Linked DNA regions of Homo sapiens: region 1 is linked to region 2. The links are contacts of gene promoters, found by promoter capture Hi-C in human tissues and cell types (Jung and others, 2019). All regions are on one chromosome and are shown on one strand. The core of a region is centred on a gene start or on the middle of the fragment in contact, and the rest is flanking DNA. Distances in the headings are between cores, read along the strand shown. Region 1 overlaps DPF2 (double PHD fingers 2). Region 2 holds the start of ATG2A (autophagy related 2A).

The links. The method cuts DNA at HindIII sites, captures the fragments that hold promoters and counts their contacts. A contact is called where the count stands out against the background at its distance.
Region 1: a fragment that was not itself captured here is called in contact with the fragment with the promoter of ATG2A in region 2 in 1 of the 25 tissues and cell types used here (lymphoblastoid cells).

The regions. Positions count from the first base shown.
Region 1 is chr11:65,349,003-65,352,435 of GRCh38, forward strand. It overlaps DPF2 (double PHD fingers 2), which reads left to right. Exons shown (of 11, transcript NM_006268.5): 11 at 2,681-3,433. The coding sequence ends at 2,757. Among named protein-coding and RNA genes, the nearest start is that of TIGD3, 4.0 kb to the right of the region's middle. The HindIII fragment of the contact is 5,512 bases long and covers 1-3,433 here.
Region 2 is chr11:64,914,200-64,918,866 of GRCh38, forward strand. ATG2A (autophagy related 2A) reads right to left here and starts at 3,010. Exons shown (of 41, transcript NM_015104.3): 1 at 2,766-3,010; 2 at 139-301; 3 at 1-34. The coding sequence starts at 2,936. It also overlaps a transcript of PPP2R5B not described here. RefSeq lists a silencer at 2,922-3,231 and an enhancer at 3,282-3,411. The HindIII fragment of the contact is 28,686 bases long and covers 1-4,667 here.

The DNA of each region.
Region 1 (3,433 bases), core at 30-2,529, 430 kb after region 2:
CTTTATGTTATCACTTACATATTCTTCCAAATTAGGGAGTAAAGCACCTTGCCTTGGCTCAGTTTAGAATGCCTTCCTAACATTTCAACTTAAAGGGTTTAGTGTTTGCACATTATCAGCTACATTTACAACAGAAAATCAACAGCCCAGAAGAAAGCAGATGCTGAGCCGAGATCAGGCACCCAGAAGGAATGATTTATTTTCTTCCAACCAGTCCAGAAAACTCAAGTGGTAGATTATCTGATGTGAAACTTCTGCAGTCAACTCTTGAAATTTGATAGATTTGAGCATTTATTTCCTATCCCTTCCCCTTCTGAACTGGGAAGGGACTTGACTTTGGAGCCTGAATGGGTCAGTCTGCTTCTCCGATAACTTACTGTAATAATGGTCCAAATTTATTAAAGCTATTCACTGAAACCAGTGGTGGCACCAAGAATTGGTTGCATCTCCACAAGTCCCCTTCCAGCTGGATTTCTGTACATAAACACCTCCTGTACAGAAATTGAGTAGCAGCTGGGCGCGGTGGCTCAAGCCTGTAATCCCAGCACTTTGGGAGGCCGAGGTGGGCGGATCACGAGGTCAGGACATGGAGACCATCCTGGCTAACACGGTGAAACCCCGTCTCTACTAAAAATACAAAAAAATTAGCCGGCTGTGGTGGCGGGCGCCTGTAGTCCCAGCTACTCAGGAGGCTGAGGCAGGAGAATGGCGTGAACCCGGGAAGCGGAGCTTGCAGTGAACCGAGATCGCACCACTGCACTCCAGCCTGGGCGACAGAGCGAGACTCCATCTCAAAGAAAAAAAAAAAAAAGCCAACAGAAATTCAGTAGCTTACTCAGAACACAAATGCCCAGGAGCTGTTACTGTGCACAAAGGATGTGGGCCAGCATTACAGGCAAGAGAAAGTGTTTCATTGTGTGATGTAAGCTGACTTGTAACATATCGGTCAAACTGCTGTCACCCCTCTAGAGAATGAGGCCCCTGACAATGTCTAAGAGTCCTTTAGCAGCTGTAGGGGAGTACTCAGCTTCTGTCAGGCCCAGTTTATGAATCTGCTTTGGGGAGAAGTCGCATGTTTATGTTTTGTTTTGTTTTGTTTTTTTAAACCATCAAACAGATGATCTATGTTACAGAATGGCTTTCCTATTAAAGTTCTGTGGGACATCGAGGTAGTGGAGAGCTGCAGGCCCGAGTGTCCTCACTGTAGTGTTAAGGCAGCTGAGGGGCAACCCCTAGAAGTATCAGATGTTCTAGGTCAGGGTCAGCAAGCTACAAGCTAAAACCTATGGACCACATCCAGCCACAGCCAGCTTAAATAGCTTGCAAGCTGTTTTGTTTTCTTTTCTTTTCTCTTTTTCTTTTTCTTTCTTTCTTTTTTTTTTTTTTTTTTGAGACAGTGTCTTGTTCTGTTGCCCATGTTGGAGTGGAGTGGCATGATCTCAGCTCACTGCAACCTCTGCTTCCCCGGGCTCAGGTAATCTGGTAATCCTCCCACCTCAGCCTCCTGAGTACCTGGGACTACAGGCATGCCACCACACCCGGCTAATTTTTGTATTTTTAGTAGAGACGGGGTTTTGCCATGGTGCCCAGGCTGGTCTCGAACTCCTGGGCTCAAGTGATCCACCCACCTCAGCTTCCCAAAGTGCTGGGATTACAGGTGTGAACCACTGCATCTAGCCTGAAGAAAATCCCCTTAAAAATATAAAAACTGGCTGTGCACTGTGGCTCGCATCTGTAATCCCAGCACTTTGGGATCTCTTGAGCCCAGGGGTTCAAGACCAGCCTGGGCAGCATGGCAAAACCCCATCTTTACTAAAAATAGAGAAATTAGCTGGGCGTGGTGCTGTGCGCTTGTAATCTCAGCTACTATAGAGGCTGAGGCAAGAGAATTGCTTGAATCTGGGAGGCAGAGGTTAGAGTAAGCTGAGATCACACTGCTGTACTCCAGCCTGAGCAACAGAGCGGAAACTCTTGTCTCAGAAAAAAAAAAAATAAAGGGAGTTAAAAAAAAAATGCATGAGACTGTATGTGGCTCACACACCCTAAAATATTTAACACTCTGGCTCTTTACAGAAAACTTTGCCAACCGTATTGACCTTTGGGTTAGAAAGGACTTACATTTTTGAGTCACCTGTTTCTGAAGAGCTGATAAAAGCCCTAGAATAATGTCCAAATGCGCATAGGTATAATTTTGCTTATCATTTCAAGGCATTAAGGACTAATTTTATTCAAAAAAAATTAGAAGAATTCAGCCATAGTCAATATTAATAAACAAGGAATGACCCAATTGTTTTTCATATAAGGGACAATTATTTTGTGTTTTTTAGTGAAACTACACAAGTCTTAAAACTGAGGTGCTTGACAAACTTCTGTCTTCCCAGGCCCTCTTCCTACTCCCAAAACTTCTGATTTAATAGGGCCAAGAGGGCCTGGGCATCAGTATTCTGAAGTCCTCTAGATGATTATTTCTTTCATCTCCATAGAGGATGATATTTCATAATATTTGAAGACTTAGAGGTTTATCCCAGCTCAGGAAACCATGGAACTTTCCTGCTGCAGAGCATCCCTCGTCCTACCTGTAGCTGATCCTGCTATAGAGATGGGGTATCAAGAGCAGAGGAATTGCAAGCAGGTGGGGATTGTGTGGGACCCATCCTGACCCCATTTTGCCTCTCTGCAGGAAGTTGGAGCTGCCACCTGTGTCTGGACCTGTTGAAAGAGAAAGCTTCCATCTACCAGAACCAGAACTCCTCTTGATGTGGCCACCCACCTGCTCCCCGACATATCTAAGGCTGTTTCTCTCCTCCACTTCATATTTCATACCCATCTTTCCCTTCTTCCTCCTCTCCTTCACAAATCCAGAGAACCTTGGGGTGGTTGTGCCAGCCTGCCTTTGGCAGCTGCAAGCTGAGGTGGCAGCTCTGACCACCTCTGGCCCCAGGCCCTCAGGGAGAAAGGAGCAACACACTGCCCCTAGGCGTGCGTGTGGCCCAGTTTCTCTCTGCTCTCCATTAAGTGCATTCACTCTGCTTGCCTTGGGCCCAGCCCCTGGTGATCACAGGGTTCAAACAGTGTCCTCCTAGAAAGAGTGGGAGAGCAGCTCACTTCTCTGTGTTCTGCCTCCCCTCTGGTCTCCAGAGTTTTCCTGTCCTCTAGAGGCAAGCCAGGCCAGGGAGCTGGGAGCGAGCAAGCTGAGGCCACGTCCACAAGGAGCTTTTCATGCCCCTGTGCCGCATAGCCTCACCTCTTTCCTCCAGAGTGGCTCTCTGCGGCCCTGTGTTCCTGCTACAGAGTGTTCTTTTCTGGAGTCAGGATGTTCTCGGTCACCCTCCTGGTTCTGCCCTGTCCCATTCCACCCCACCCCAGGGGGAACAGTAGCTTCACCTTGTTATTCCCATTGCTCTCCTGGCTCACTCTTACGGTCGGTCTCCAG
Region 2 (4,667 bases), core at 1,760-4,259:
GAGGCCCAGCTCTGTGAGTCGGCAGCCCCTGGCGCTGTAGGGAGAAACAGGGTCTCAAGGCAGGCAGGCCCAGTCAGGTCCTGGACGCCCCAGCCCACTCTCCCCACTTGCCTGCCCCCAGCCTCGCCCTGCCCTCACCTGGACCCCGGCGGGGCTGCAAGGTGAGCTGGAGGCCGGACACGCGCACTGTGCAGTGGTCGGTGAGCAGAGCAGCCCAGGGCACGGCCACCTCGATGGAGCCCACGAAGCCTTCCACCAGCTCCAGCGGTGACTCCATTGACTCCAGCACCTCGTTCACAGACTGGGAGCAAGCAAGAGACAAAACCAGCTCAGGGAAACCCCAAATCCCACAGGCTGGCACAGCCTTATCTGGCCATAGTGCCTTGGAGAGCACCCTTGGCTTGCCCTGTCCCTCCACGTGTTATCTACAAGGTCCCACCTATGCTCATGCTGTCCCCTACTACAGGCCAGCCCCCCTACCCCGTCACCCAAAGGTGCCTAATCCTTCAAGCCAGAGCAGATGTTTCCCTCACCACTTAATTCAAGATAATATTTACCGAGCACTTTCTACATGCTGACACTGAGACTAGATGGGTAAATAAAATGTCTTCATTCCCCAGCCAAGCTAGGCTCCAGCCAGGGACTCAGAGCAACTAGGATGAAACTCAAGAGGTGAGCAGGTGCTTGGGGGTGGTGAGGGGGCTGGTGGGGGGGCCGTGGGGAAGACGCCTAACCCAGCCTGGGCCGTCAGAGGAGGGGCAAGCTGAAGAATAAAGGGAGGGGGGATAGGCGCTGGTAGAAGGTGGTGTGTTGCAGGCACAGGACAACATGGGCACATGTATGGCAGAGTCCAGAATACCCATGTTCACCCTGGATGAGCAGAGTTCAAAGGGACAGTGTCCAAGAGAGGGGCTGACCTAATGCCAGATGGGACCCCCCCCCCCCACCACCAACCCCAAACACCTAGTGTAGCTGTGCCTCTCTGTGAGGCACAAGGCTGAGCCCCTGGCTAAAATGTCCATGCTGGAGTTGTACCCCTGCCAACCTGGAAGCTCCTGGAGGGCTGTACCCCACCTGCCTCCCCCGTCACCCCAGGTGCCACCCAGAAAGGGCCTCAGTAAACTGGTTGGATCCAAGAATAAAAAAGCACATGGCAGAGCAGATGGGAGTCCAAATTCCTCACCCAGAGACCCACAGCTCGGGAAACTGAGGCCTAGAGACAGGACTAATCTAGTCACCCAGTATACAACAGGGACTGAGACTGGGATGCGGGCCTCTTTCTTTTCATGCCACTTCAGAGGCCCCAGATACTCAGTTTCTTTGGGGGCCTTCAAGGCGGGGCCTGCAGGCTGAGCTGGGAGGGAGGAGGGGCTGGTTATCAAGAAAGCGCCTGCATTCCACCAGGGCCCTAGAGAAGCCAATTCAATCCCCAACAAGAGGGCAGGGAACAGGAGTAGGGGCGTTTTCTGGAGCTGAAAGTAAAAAGGGGAAGCCTAGGGCTGGGTATGGTGGTTCATGCCTATAATCTCAGCACTTTGGGAGGCTGAGGTGGGAGGATCCCTTCAGGGGTTCAAGGCTAGCCTGGGCAACATAGCGAAATCCTGTCTCTATAAAAATAAAAAAGGGGCAGCCTAGAGACGGCCTTAGAGGCTGAGGCTAAGGTTAGAGGTCAGAGAGGGCTTCCTACACCAGAATTCACAGACAGCAGGCCACTGGGGGGTGCCCCCAGTTCAGGGCCCACGATTATCCTACCCCACATTTGCTCACCAGGGCCTGGCCTACCCCCAAAGCCTAGCTCTTCTGCCCAGATTAGCAGCCCCCTGAGTCCAGCCACAAAACTGAGAAGTCCCTGCCTCCATGCCCACCCCTGCTGCTCTGGACCTGGTGGATCGACCAGGACGCGCCTCTAATTGGTGGCTCCTTCAAAGCTCCCCAGGTCAGCTGAGCTGTGAGTCAGGGCTCCTCACCGTTCCCAGCCTCAAGCCTCTGACCTTACACCTCTTGGCCTCCCTAGCATCTCCCTTGGCCTCCTCCCGGCTTGAAGCCAGATCTCCCCACCTTTCCTCCAGGGCCTCCCTCCAGGCAGGGACACTGAGCCGGGGGGGTCGGTGGGAGATGTAGGTGGGGGCCATCCAGTCCCTCCCTAGACACCCACTTGGCCCATCCCACTCTCCCAAAAGCAGGAAGTAGGCAGCGACCCAGGCACACGAGGTGTTGATCAACACTGGTACTGACGTACTGACGCGGTTGTTGACATACACATCCGGTGGTTTGTTGATCCCACCTACGGGCTCAGGACCGTGGGGTCAAGAGGTCAGGGCACATGATCCACAGGTGTCCTCGCCAGGGCTCCGGACCCCTACCAGCTTCCCCCACCAGCTGCGCAGGCCCAAGTCTGTCACTGCCCTGGCCCAGCTCAGTTCCTACGCTCCCTCCCCAGCCCCTCCTCAGCCCGAGAGCCAACCTCCTTAACTCAGCCCCCAAACTCGACGAGTTTGTCTTGCATTCTCCAGACAGGTGATCTTGCCCTCTCCAGCCTCAGTTTCTCCTCCCGTGGAGACAGAAACCCCTTCCCGCTCAGTTTCTGGCTCTGGTAAGGAACTGAAGAGGCCAGCCGGGGTGCCTCTGACGCCTGGAGAGGGCAAGATTCCCCTGGCCTCTCTACGCCCGGTGCCTGATCCCCCAGCCCGATCCTGCCGCAGGGAGCCTCAGGTCGCTGCGCTCCCACCCTCCGCACCTTCCTGGACTCGGGCCTGGCTCCTCACCCAGATTTCCAGGTGGATGTCTCGCAGGGCAACGCTGCCCTTGTACAGATCGAGGCTGAGCTGGTCCAGGCTGAGGTGCTCTTGGAAGAAGTGACCTAAGTAGTGGTGCAGCAAGTAGCGGCAGACCCGCTCTTTCACACAGTTTGACCATGGCCACAGCCATCGTGACATCTCGGAGACCGCCGGGCCTGGGCCGCCTCCGCTTGCCGCCCGCCGGCGATCCCCGTCCGGCTCCGCTGTTCACTAGAGCCCCCGGCTCGCCCCGCCGCTTCTCTAGGCGCCAGGCCGCGCCTCCGGACGCCCAGCCACGCCCCCTACGCTCACTGTCATTGGCTATTGCAAAGGGCGAGGCCTACTGATTGGCTGCGCGGGGCGGAGCCTTCGGGCGCGAAAAAGGGACTGGGCTCTCTGCATGATATAGGGCTCTCAATCATGATTTACGCTTGCGTAAAGTACTGTGTGGGAGGACCTTTAACCTCCCCTCTACAGGCTCTGGGAAGGCTGTTGCTCCAGGTGCCGGCCCCTCAAAGGAATGCGCATGTGCTGATTCGTCCAACCACTTTAAGTGGTTGGGGAGGATTTAAAGGGACAGTGTCCCATCAAACTTCGTAGAAGCCTTCCCCAGAGGAGTAAACTCAGTGCGCGATCTTAAGCGCGCATCTGTGGAAACAATTAAGTGAGTAAACATTCGCATTTTGCAAAATCTTTTACCATCCTTTATCTCATTGAGCCCTCTTAATAATCGCTCAAGGTAGGGATTATTGCCACCGCTTTACAGGTAAGAAAACAGATTAAGATACGAGAAAGACCCTGCCTCAAAAACAAACAAAAATAAATAAGGGCTCTGAATCCATCACCAAGGAAGGTCTTTTTTCCCCTCCTCACCCCGGAATGCTCAGAGGGAGATTAACTGACCCTCCCTTCTCTCTGCCGTCGGTCAGGCCTTAGGCACCTCTCTGAAATAATAATAGCTTTTCATATCTCTAGTCCTAAAATCAAAGAATGGATTCTGCCTCCTTTAAGCAGGGGGGCATTGTTTTTGTACGGCCTTTGAGCTAAGTATGGTTTTTATGTCTTTTAAATGGTTAGGGGAAAAATCAAAAGAAGAATGAACTTTTCATGGCATGTGAAAAATCATATGAAATTCACATTCCAGTGTTTATACATAACGTTTTAGTGTCACACAGTCTTGCTCATTTGCTTAAGTTCTGCCCCGGGCTGCTTTCTTGCTACAAGAGCAGAATTCAGTACTTGAGACAGAGGCCTGCAAAGCCTAAAATATTTATTTTCTGGCCCTTCACAGAAAAAGTTTGCCAACCGCTGCTCTGTAGGGGGCAGCCACACAAAACCTCTTACATCATGGGCGACTTCAGGAACAGCCATAGGTAATTATGTTTCTTTTCTTTTCTTTTTGAGACAGACTCTCTCTGTCACCTAGGCTGGAGTGCAGTGGCACAATCTTGGCTCACTGCAACCTCTGCCTCCTGGGTTCAAATGATTCTGCTGCCTTGGCCTCCCAGAGTAGCTGGGATTACAGGCATGCACCACCGCACCCAGCTAATTACCGTGTTGGGCAGGCTGGTCTCGAACTCCTGACCTTAGGTGATCAGCCTGCCTTGGCCTCCCAAAGTGTTGGGATTACAGGCACGAGCCACCGTGCCCGGCCTATGTTTCTATTTTATTTATTTTTTTTGAGACAGAGTCTTGCTCTGTTGCCCAGGCTGGAGTGCAGTGGTGCAGTCTCCTCTCACGCAACCTCTGGCTCCTGGGTTCAAGGAATTCCTGAGTAGCTGGGATTACAGGTGTGAGCTACCCCACCTAGCCTGTGTTTCTATTTTAATCTTACTTGGGAGCTGGACTCTTACATTCTAATGCCAAAACTCAGCCTGAAGCAAGGGCAAC